Linked DNA regions of Homo sapiens: all the other regions are linked to region 3. Evidence: promoter capture Hi-C in 16 types of primary human blood cells and fetal thymus (Javierre and others, 2016). All regions are on one chromosome and are shown on one strand. Each heading gives the region's core, a stretch centred on a gene start or on the middle of the fragment in contact. The rest is flanking DNA. Distances are from core to core; before and after follow the strand shown.

The links. The method cuts DNA at HindIII sites, captures the fragments that hold promoters and counts their contacts. A CHiCAGO score of 5 or more calls a contact.
Region 1: a contact is called between a fragment that was not itself captured here and the fragment with the promoter of PTBP3 in region 3, in 5 of 17 cell types (megakaryocytes, fetal thymus, erythroblasts and 2 more). The highest score is 19.3, in megakaryocytes.
Region 2: a contact is called between a fragment that was not itself captured here and the fragment with the promoter of PTBP3 in region 3, in 1 of 17 cell types (megakaryocytes). The highest score is 8.3, in megakaryocytes.

Annotation. Positions count from the first base shown.
Region 1 is chr9:112,177,883-112,181,070 of GRCh38, reverse strand. No RefSeq gene overlaps it. Among named protein-coding and RNA genes, the nearest start is that of SUSD1, 4.2 kb to the right of the region's middle. RefSeq lists an enhancer at 1-22. The HindIII fragment of the contact is 2,180 bases long and covers 439-2,618 here.
Region 2 is chr9:112,133,046-112,136,252 of GRCh38, reverse strand. The region is part of intron 5 of SUSD1 (sushi domain containing 1); the gene reads left to right. Among named protein-coding and RNA genes, the nearest start is that of SUSD1, 41 kb to the left of the region's middle. The HindIII fragment of the contact is 4,334 bases long and covers 1-3,207 here.
Region 3 is chr9:112,332,043-112,335,333 of GRCh38, reverse strand. It overlaps PTBP3 (polypyrimidine tract binding protein 3), which reads left to right and starts at 1,715. Exons shown (of 14, transcript NM_001163788.4): 1 at 1,715-1,864. RefSeq lists an enhancer at 671-1,641 and silencers at 1,391-1,710, 1,861-2,350. The HindIII fragment of the contact is 11,957 bases long and covers 1-3,134 here.

The sequences.
Region 1 (3,188 bases), core at 279-2,778, 150 kb after region 3:
GCCTGCTGCTCCTTGAACTTGTCTGTTGCAGTGTCTGAAGTTTGCTCCCAAATCCAAGTCCAAATCTAAATCTTGCTGCTGCCCCAGCTTCTGCTGGGGGGATCACAGGGTCTCTTGAGTCCATTACAGTGAGGAGAGAGAGCACTATTGTAAAAATAGGGAGTCCAGGACTTGTCCCCTAAGCTGAGCTGTCCCTTTCCACCCATGCTTGTTTTGCTTTTCTGAGAATACTAGCGTTTTGGGTAAATTACACACTGGTTGTAGCACAGCCACGTGCAGCAGACAATAGTGCACTTGTTGCCCAAGGTCTACACACTAACTCCAGGTAGGGTGTTTGATGTATGTGTGTGTCTAAAGGGAGGGAGAGGTATGCTGGAGAAGGCAGAGTAATCCTACTGTTTCTCCAATAGCAGCAAAGTATCTGAGAGTCATTAAGCTTCAAAAAATGAGAAGTTGGCCTTTGTTTGAGTTAGAGACTTCATCAGAAGGGCATTTCTCCAGAGGGACAGGTCCTTCTTATCAGCCTTTACAAATCTGCTTGAGATGATGACTCCATTCTGGGAGGGGTAATGTGGCTTCTTTGAAGGTGGCCTTGGGGTTTTCACAGATGTCGAGTCAGCCAGGGTTAGATGAGGTGGGGGTGGAGCAGACTGTTACAGAGGGACTGTTACTTTGTTTCAAACACACAAGTTTTCAGCCAATATACTTCAAAGGCTTCAAATATTTAAATTATTTCTGTTAATGCAAACTTCAGGCAGTAAGTGCAACCCCAGAGTATATTAAACTCATTACAATTAGATATTCAAGCCATTCCTAAAAAACCCACATATAAACAATTTATTTACAATTTATGGGAGGCTGGGGAGGGAGGATTGCTTTTGCCCAGAAGTTGAAAGTTGCAGTGAGCTGTGATCACGCCACTGCATTCCAGCCTGGGCGACAGAGCAAGACTCTGTCTCTAAATAAATAAATTAAATTAAAAACAAAAATAACAATTTGCAAGCCTGCCAGGAGCTGTCCCAAAGCAGTCTCTGTAATCATTTATGGTCAGGAGTGTGGTAAGCAAGAATGGATTTTTTTCCAGGAGAGTCCCAGGATATTTAGTATCCAATCTCCCTCCTCGATTCTCCTTCTGGCCTTGTAGCCAGATGGGAACCCACTGGACAAACCCCAAACCTCTTCACACTGGAATCCGACACTGAGAAGAGCAGCTTGGGGGAAAATCTCCCTAGAGATACTGAACCAGTGTTCAGAATGAAATTTTTTGCCTGCCCTCTGCCTTCCCATACCCATGGCTCTCCAGAGTCCTCTCAGAGCTCTCCCGAAATCCCATTCACTTATGTCTCAGGAATATTGGGAAAAATGGGGCTTTCCAAGATATCTTTCTTGTAAACCTGATCCCATATAGATTTGCCAGAACCAAAACTAATTTGGAAAGTCCTTAATATTTGCCTATTTGATAAAATAAAAATAAAAATGGGCATAAACGTTTTTTGTCATTGAATTTTTAAAAACGATTTTAAACTTTTTTTTTTTTTTTTTTTTGAGATGGAGTCTTGCTCTGTCACCCAGGCTGGAGTGCAGTGGCGCGATCTCGGCTCACTGCAACCTCTGCCTCCCGGGTTCTCGCCATTCTCCTGCCTCAGCCCCAGAGTAGCTGGGACTACAGGCGCCTGCCACCACGCCTAGCTACTTTTTTATATTTTTAGTAGAGACGGGGTTTCACCGTGTTAGCCAGGATGGTCTCGATCTCCTGACGCCGTGATCCACCTGCCTCGGCCTCCCAAAGTGCTGGGATTACAGGTGTGAGCCACTGCGTCCAGCCAATTTTAAACATTTTTAAGGCTGGGTGTGGTGGCTTATGCCTATAATCCCAGGACTTTGGGAGGCCGAGGTGGGTGGATCATTTGAGGTCAGGAGTTTGAGAACAGCCTGACCAACATGGTGAATCCCCGTCTCTACTAAAAGTACAAAATTAGCTAGGCGTGGTGGCATGTGCCTGGAATCCCAGCTACTTGGGAGGCTGAGGCAGGAGAATCGCTTGAACTCGGGAGGCAGAGGTTGCAGTGAGCCGAGATAATGCCATTGGACTCCAGCTTGGGCAACAAGAGTGAGACTCTGTCTCAAAAACAAACAAACAAACAAACATTTTTAAGTGTACAGTTCAGTGTTAGGTCCATTCACATTGTTGTGCAATCACCACCACTATCCATCCACAGAACTTTTTTCATCTTGCAAAACTGAAAGTCGATACCCACTAAACACTAAGTCTCAGCCAGGCATAGTGGCTCACAACTGCAATCCCAGAACTTTGGGAGGCTGAAGCGGGAGGATCCCTTGAGGCCAATAGTTCAAGACTAGCCTGGGCAACACAGCAAGACCCTGTCTCTACATTTTTTTTAAAAAATTAGCTGGACATGGTGGCATGTGCTTGTAGTCCCAGCTACTTGGGAGGTTGAGGTGGAGGGATCGCTTGAGCTTGGGAGGTCAAGGCTGCAGTGAGCCATGATTGCACCACTGAACTCCACCCTGGGTGACACAGTGAGATCCTCCTGTCTCAAAGAAAGAAGAAGAAGAATGAGGAGGAAATGGAGGAGAGGGAGAAGGAGAAGAAAGCTTCTTTCAAGTTCTTTTTTAGAAAATGCTGGTATATTAACCATGCTCTCTTGAAAGAACATTTTTCTTAAGTCAAATACTTTGTCAGCAATAATCCCACTGTTCCTCCAAACTTAACACTGGTTCAAGATTCTGTTTTAATTCTTGTGACAAATACTGTTGGATGAGGAGATAATTTTTCATTATGTGATCCAATGAACTCACCATTGAGTAAGAAGTATTGTTTTAACCAAAAATATGTATTTGAAATTTAAAAATGAGCCAATGAAAAGAATTGATGAAAGTCAAGCAATCTAATGTGGAATATAGAGTAAGATGGATTGTCCTGAAATATAATTTTCAAAAAGTTGAAAACATGACTTATGCAACTATAAGATGAAAACATATCTAAGATTCTATTCAATTGATTAATGGAGGACTCAGTAAGTTGTTGATCTCAAAGGAGAACTAGCAAGATGTTAAGGTTCAAAGGAAAATCCAACATCAGGAATGATCACATGAATTTGCTAATAGGTGCCAAACTGGTTAACTAGTTAGTATCATATAGGACAAAATGAAATTAGTGGGTTTAA
Region 2 (3,207 bases), core at 434-2,933, 200 kb after region 3:
CTACAAAAATTTTCAAAATAAATAAATAAAAATTAAAAAACAATTAAATACATTTTCTGGCACCTCACGATATACTGATCTTTTAACACATTTTTAAAAACTGCATTGACTTACCCGTTGCATGCAACAGCTCTGTTGGGTTACACTTTTGCCAAGTAAATGCCATTAAAATATGTCTCCATATTTGTAAATGGTTGAAGTCATTTGAGTGTGCAGAATGAGTGATGACATTGGTTATAAGGCTGCCAATAGTGGGGACGATGCATGAGCTTTTGGCTCAGAAAGACCCGTGTAAGTTTTATCTGAGCCACTAACTAGTTGTGCAACCACTTCTGAACCTCTCTAAACTCCAGTTTCCTTTTGTGGAAGGGAATAAAATGGTGTTCATCCCTTAGAGCTATTGTGAAGATTTAATCGGATAATGAATAAAGCCCTTGGCCCTGTGCCTAGTGCAGAAAAGGTGTGGCTCAATGTCACGGTCATGAGCAAGTGGGCCATTTTCTAGTGAGGAGTGGCAGGTCTCCTCATCAAAAACATAAGGTCTTTCTGAAACTTCTTACTATAAAATGAGAAGGTCTAAAGTTCTTCAGTTTTTACTTTACCTTATTTATTTATTTTCCATTCAGACATTCTATTTACAACTAGAACATTAGAATGAAGAGTTTTAATGTTATCTTTTGATAAAAAGAAATATTCATATGCAGCTCAAAGCATCAACAAACATTATTGTCACTTCTGCAAATGGAAGATCCTTACAAGAGATCTTGCTAAGCCCTTTTTTTCCCTTAACATTCATGCTTTTACACACCCTATCACCTCCTCTGCAGTTTCTGAAGTGTTCAGATTCCAGTTGTTTCCATATTAGACACTATTTATTGATGATAAGTGTTATATGAAAAGGAAAATGTTCTTTTTCCTCCAAGTGAGCTTTCTGTATGAATACGATCTGAAGAAAATATATTGTTAGTCAAGGCTAAATAAAGTTCATGGAAGAATTTAGAATACAAAATGCATCAAAAAGTAATCTGTTTTTCTTTCTATCGCCTTAAGAGCAAGTAGACTTTTGGGTACTAATGAGCTCATTAGAGCGGTTAATAAACTACGCTTGAGAATGTGCTTCATGGCAAACTATAACCCTCCCATTTTTCTTTTATGCTTGCAATAACATTTTCTTTTCTTTTTTTTTTTTGAGACAGTTTGCTCTTGTTGCCCAGGCTGGAGTGCAATGGCACAAACTTGACTCACTGCAACCTCTGCCTCTTGGGTTCAAGCGATTCTCCTGCCTCAGCCTCCCGAGTAGCTGGGATTACAGGCGCCTGCCTCACACCTGGCTAATTTTTGTATTTTTAGTACAGATGGGATTTCATCACATTGGCCAGCTGGTCTCTAATTCCTGGCCTCAGGTGATCCTCCTGCCTTGGACTCCCAAAATGCTGGGATTACAGGGGTGAGCCACCGTGCCTGGCCACATTTTTTTTTTTTTTAAATAATTTCAACTTTTATTTTAGATTCAGGGGGCACATGTGCAAGTTTGTTACAATGGTATATTGCATAATGCTGAGATTTGGGATATGAATGATCCTGTCACCTATGTAGTGAGCATGGTACCCAACAGTTAGTGTTTCAACCCCCTTCCTCCCTCCTCCCTCTATTTGTCCTCTATGTCTGTCGTTCTCATCTTTATGTCCATGAGTACCCAATATTTAGCTCCCACTTATATGTGAGAACGTGTGGTATTTGATTATCCGTTCATGTGTTAATATGCTTAGGATATTAGAATTTTCTGTTCCTGCATTAATATGCTTAGGATAGTAGAAGTGGCCTCTAGCTGCATCCATGTTGCTGCAAAGGACATGATTTTATTTTTTATGGTTGTGTAGTATTCCATGGTGTACATGTATCACATTTTCTTTATCCAATCCACCACTGATGGGCATCTAGGTTGATTCCATGTCTTTGCTATTGTGAATAGTGCAGCGATGAACATATAAGTGCATGTGTCCTTTTGATTGAATGATTTATTTTCTTTTGGATATATACCAGTAATGGGACTGCTGGATTGAATGGTAGTTCTGTTTTAAGCTCTTTGAGAAATCTCCAAATTACTTTCCACAGTGGCTGAACTAATTTACATTCCCACCGACAGCATATAAGCATTCCCTTTTCTCTGTAGCCTTACCAGCATCTGTTATTTTTTGTCTTTTTAATAATAGCCATTCTGACTGGTGTGAGATGGAATCTCATTGTGGTTTTGATTTGCATTTCTCTGATTAGTGTTGTGGAGCATTTTTTCATATGTTTCTTGATTGCTTGTGTGTCTTCTTTTGAGACATGTCTGTTCATGTCTTTTGCCCACTTTTTAATGGAGTTATTTGTTGTTTGCTTGTTGAATTGTTTAAGTTCCTTGTAGATTCTGGATATTAGACCTTTGTCAGATGCATAGGTTGTAAATATTTTATCCCATTCTGTAGGCTATCAGTTTCCTTTGTTGATAGTTTCTTTTGCTGTACAGAGGCTCCTTAGTTTAATTAGGTCTCACTTGTCACTTTTGTTTTTGTTGCAATTGCTATTGAGGGCTTAATAAAAAACTATTTCCCAAGGCTGATGTCCAGAATGGTGTTTTGCAGTTTTTCTTCCAGCATTCTTACAGTTTGTGGTCTTATATTCAAGTCTTTAATCTATCTTGAATTAATTTTTATGTACGGTAAATGGCAGGGGTCCAGTTTCATTCTTCTGCATATGGCTAGCCAGCTATCCCAGCACCATTTATGTATAGGGAGTCCTTTCCCCTTTGCTTGTTATTGTTTACTTCTTTGCAGAAGATAAGGTGACTGATCAGGTGTGTGGCTTCATTTCTGGGTTCTCTATTCTGTTCCATTGGCCTATTGGCCTATGTACCAGTACCATGCTGTTTTGGTTGCTGTAGCTTTGTAGTATAGTTTGAAGTCTGGTAATGTAATGCCTCTGGCTTTGTTTTTCTTTTTTTCAGACATGAGGTTGCCCAGGGTGGAGTGTGGTGGTGCAGTCATGGCTCACTGCAGCCTCAAATTCTTGGGCTTAAGGGATCTTCCTGCCTGAGTCTCCCGAGTAGCTGGGACTACATGCCTGGCTAACTAAAACAATTTGTTTTTTATTTTTGTAGAAACAGTGTCTTAACATGTTGCCCAGGCTGGTCTTAAACTGCTGGGCTCAAGTGATCCTCATGCC
Region 3 (3,291 bases), core at 466-2,965:
AGCCTGGGAGACAGAGCAAGACTCCGTCTCAAAACAAAAAAACAAAAAAACAAAAAAACAAACAACAAAAAAAAGTAAGGTCCAGAAGGATGCACGCAGAATTGTTACAGTGGTAGTCATGGGCAGGGGGTGGTTTGGGAAGAAAAATATTAATGATAACTTTTCAATATTTTATAGTGCTTGAATTTTCCAAAATGAGCATTTATGCTGATATTACTTGTGTAGCTAAAAAAAGGGTTAAGGAAATTTCATCAACAGAATATATCCCAAATACAGTGATAGAAAGACTGCATCAGCTACTTATCTTGTTGATATTCTACATTTCCATCTGGCAATGTTTACAAATGCAACTTAATATTTAGATTTAATATACAAAACAAAATGTATTTGACATTTTGGAAGGGGACTGAGGTTAGATACAGGACTTTAAGAATTACCTCACCGAATTACTCTACCTATTTGAAAAGTTGTATGTCAAAAATATACATAAACGGACTGAAGAATCCATTCAACAGTGACGGCTGGAACCTGATTTTCTTGTGTATTCATGCAGTGCCCGGCACATAGTAGGTTAATACTGACTGAATGATGAATGAGTCCACAGTTTAGATCTTTTTAGCAGCACCTACTGATCTGAAAGCAGGAAATTAGCAAGGATAGATGTTTGAGGTTCTTGTTAGTTGCTTTTCAAATGACGAAGCCACGGGGAGGAGCCCCGCTCTTTTTTACTCAGTAGGTTAAGAATTTGGCTTAACAGTTTAGGGGGTTACATTTTGGTGATCTGTGAGTTGAAAAAGTACTCAATTTCTCACTAAAAAGGGAAAAAAGCAAGCGTGTTGTCACTCGTTATATTATATATATACTTTTTGCTCAGACCAGAGGGAAGGGCTCTGGTGCAAACGTTTCCTGGTTGTGAAACTGTGAGCAAATCACTCTCTTTGTATATGTATTTTCATCTGAAAAAAGGGAATAATGAGTAAACTTTTAAAAAATGCTGGGAATATAGCCATTCCATGTTTGTACAATGAATTTTTCATATAAATTCAATACTAGACGGTTAGGTCGAAATGCACTCAGATACTTAAATTGTATACAAATTCCAGTCCGGGCAGCCTCTTTCACCTCATTCATCGTCCCAGCCACACCTATGGGGCTGGTGTCGGTCCCAGCGGTCGACTCCAGCGCCGGGCTGCCAGAGGCTGGTCCCTGGACGTGTCATCTACAGCCTCGCGCACCCGGGGCAATTCCACCTCGTTTCTGGGGTCCTTGTGGGACATTCCTTCCTACTCTTGGGAGTCAGGTCCCCATAGCTTTTCCTGCCGGCAGAGGGAGGCATTCAAACCTGGCAGGCCCGGTCTGCGAAGCCGGAAGGCCCGCGGGGCCGCGGGAGGGCGGGCGGGGTGCGCGGCGGAGCGGGAAGCACAAGGCGCGCGCTCCCGCGAACGCAGGAGGGAGGCTGGGGGCGCGCGCGCGCGCCGGGCCGAGGGGCCGAGAGGCGGGGTCTTACAGCGACCGCGGGAAGAGGGCGCCCCAGAGCTGAGCCGGAGGCCGGCTGCCAGCGGGGCGAGGGTGGGCGCGAGCGCAGGGGCGGGCCCCGAGGGAGGGCGGGGACGGTGAGGGGGCGGGGTCGGGCTAGGCGGGGACGCGCTCGCGGGGTGGGGAAGGCGGGGGCGCGGCGGTGGCGGGAGCGTGCCCGGTCCCCGCCCCTGTTCCCACTCTCCTTCCACCTCGGACCGGCCGGGGCTCCGCAGAGCCAAAGCTCGCTTGTCCCCGGAACCGCCCTGCTGCCGCCGCCTGCTTCCTCTGCTCGCGGTTAGCCCGTCAGTCCCTGCTCTGTGCGCGCCTCCATCTGGGCCATGGATGGGTAAGTACTAGGCGGCGCGGCGGCCGCACCGGGTTGCCTTGGCGCCGCTTCCACCCGGCTCTCCGCGGGACGCGTAAGGGCTGGGGAGCAGTGCGCGGCGCCGGCGGCCGGAGGAGCGGCCCCGGCCAAGCCCGACGGCGGGGCTTCCGGGCGTCTCGGTGGGGATCCCGGAATCGCGGAGTTGCCGTCCGCCGCAGGCTCTCCTTTCCCCACGCGGCGCCCCGGACACGTCCGCTGCTTCCTAGCCTTACTCGACACACCCGGGAGCAGAGGAAAGCCCGGTCCGGCCGCGGTGCCGAGGTCCGCCCTCCGCGCCCCGAGTCCGGGGAGCCCAGCTCGGCCTCCCGACACTTCCTCTCAGAAAATGGTGCGCGGCGCTGGGGGAGGCGGAGGCGGCGCGCGGGGCGGGCGTCCTCCTGCCGGGGGAGTTGCTGTTTACCGGCGAGGTGGGGCGAGCGGCCGACGGCGGGTGCACGCGTCGGTACACGTCTGGGCGGCGACCTGGTCGCAAGCCATGGTCCCACGCGGGGTCCCAGGGCCGCCGCGGGACTTGGCCGAGGTCTCCCGACTTGTGCTGTGAGATACGTTAACGCTTTCTCGACACCAGGGGTCTGGACTTAGTGACCATGGACGCTTCCCCCTCACCTTTCTCTCTCCCCAAGAAACTTAATGAATTATCTGCCCGTGTATGTAAAATATGATGTACGAGCGATTTTCGGGGGCATTTCAAATGCTCAAAAATTTAATGGGGGTCCGTGACCAAAATAAAAAGATTTAGAGTCTATGTATATAAACTGTTCTCTGGGGACTCAGGGATATGGGGTGGGACTTGACATATTTTGGTAATTAAAGTAACAACTATGTTAGGATTTTGGTGAATTAATTGAAGGTTGTAGTATCTGTACCTACGGATTAAAAAAAAATCTCCAACTCGGTTTATTCCCATTATGTATTTGAGGTTTTTTTTAGCTTGTTACCTACTTTTGATGACAAGATTTCTGTGAGGTTGTGGAATATATGCAACTTGCTAGAACAGTAAAAGTCGTTCACATGTTGCCATACAGTTGATGATATGCTATTTGAAGATGAAATCTTCCAACAGCTTTTGACCTCATTAGATTTCATTTATTTTAGTTTCACAATATTAAGTGTATATGACATTTCGGATTGATTCATTTGAATGCAGATTGCACACTGCTACAGACATCAAAGTGGAGTTTTAGATTTTATTCATGATTGTGATGTTCTTTATTTTTATTTGATTGAAGCTTCAAAAAATTTCTTAAAATTATAACTTTTTTGGGTACACAGTAGGTGTATATATTTTGGGGGGGAATTGAAGCTGTTTTTATTGTTTGATTGAAGTTTCTTCGAGAACATTGTTGAAAACTTATTTCACATTACCTTATTCAGTTGCATTTTATATG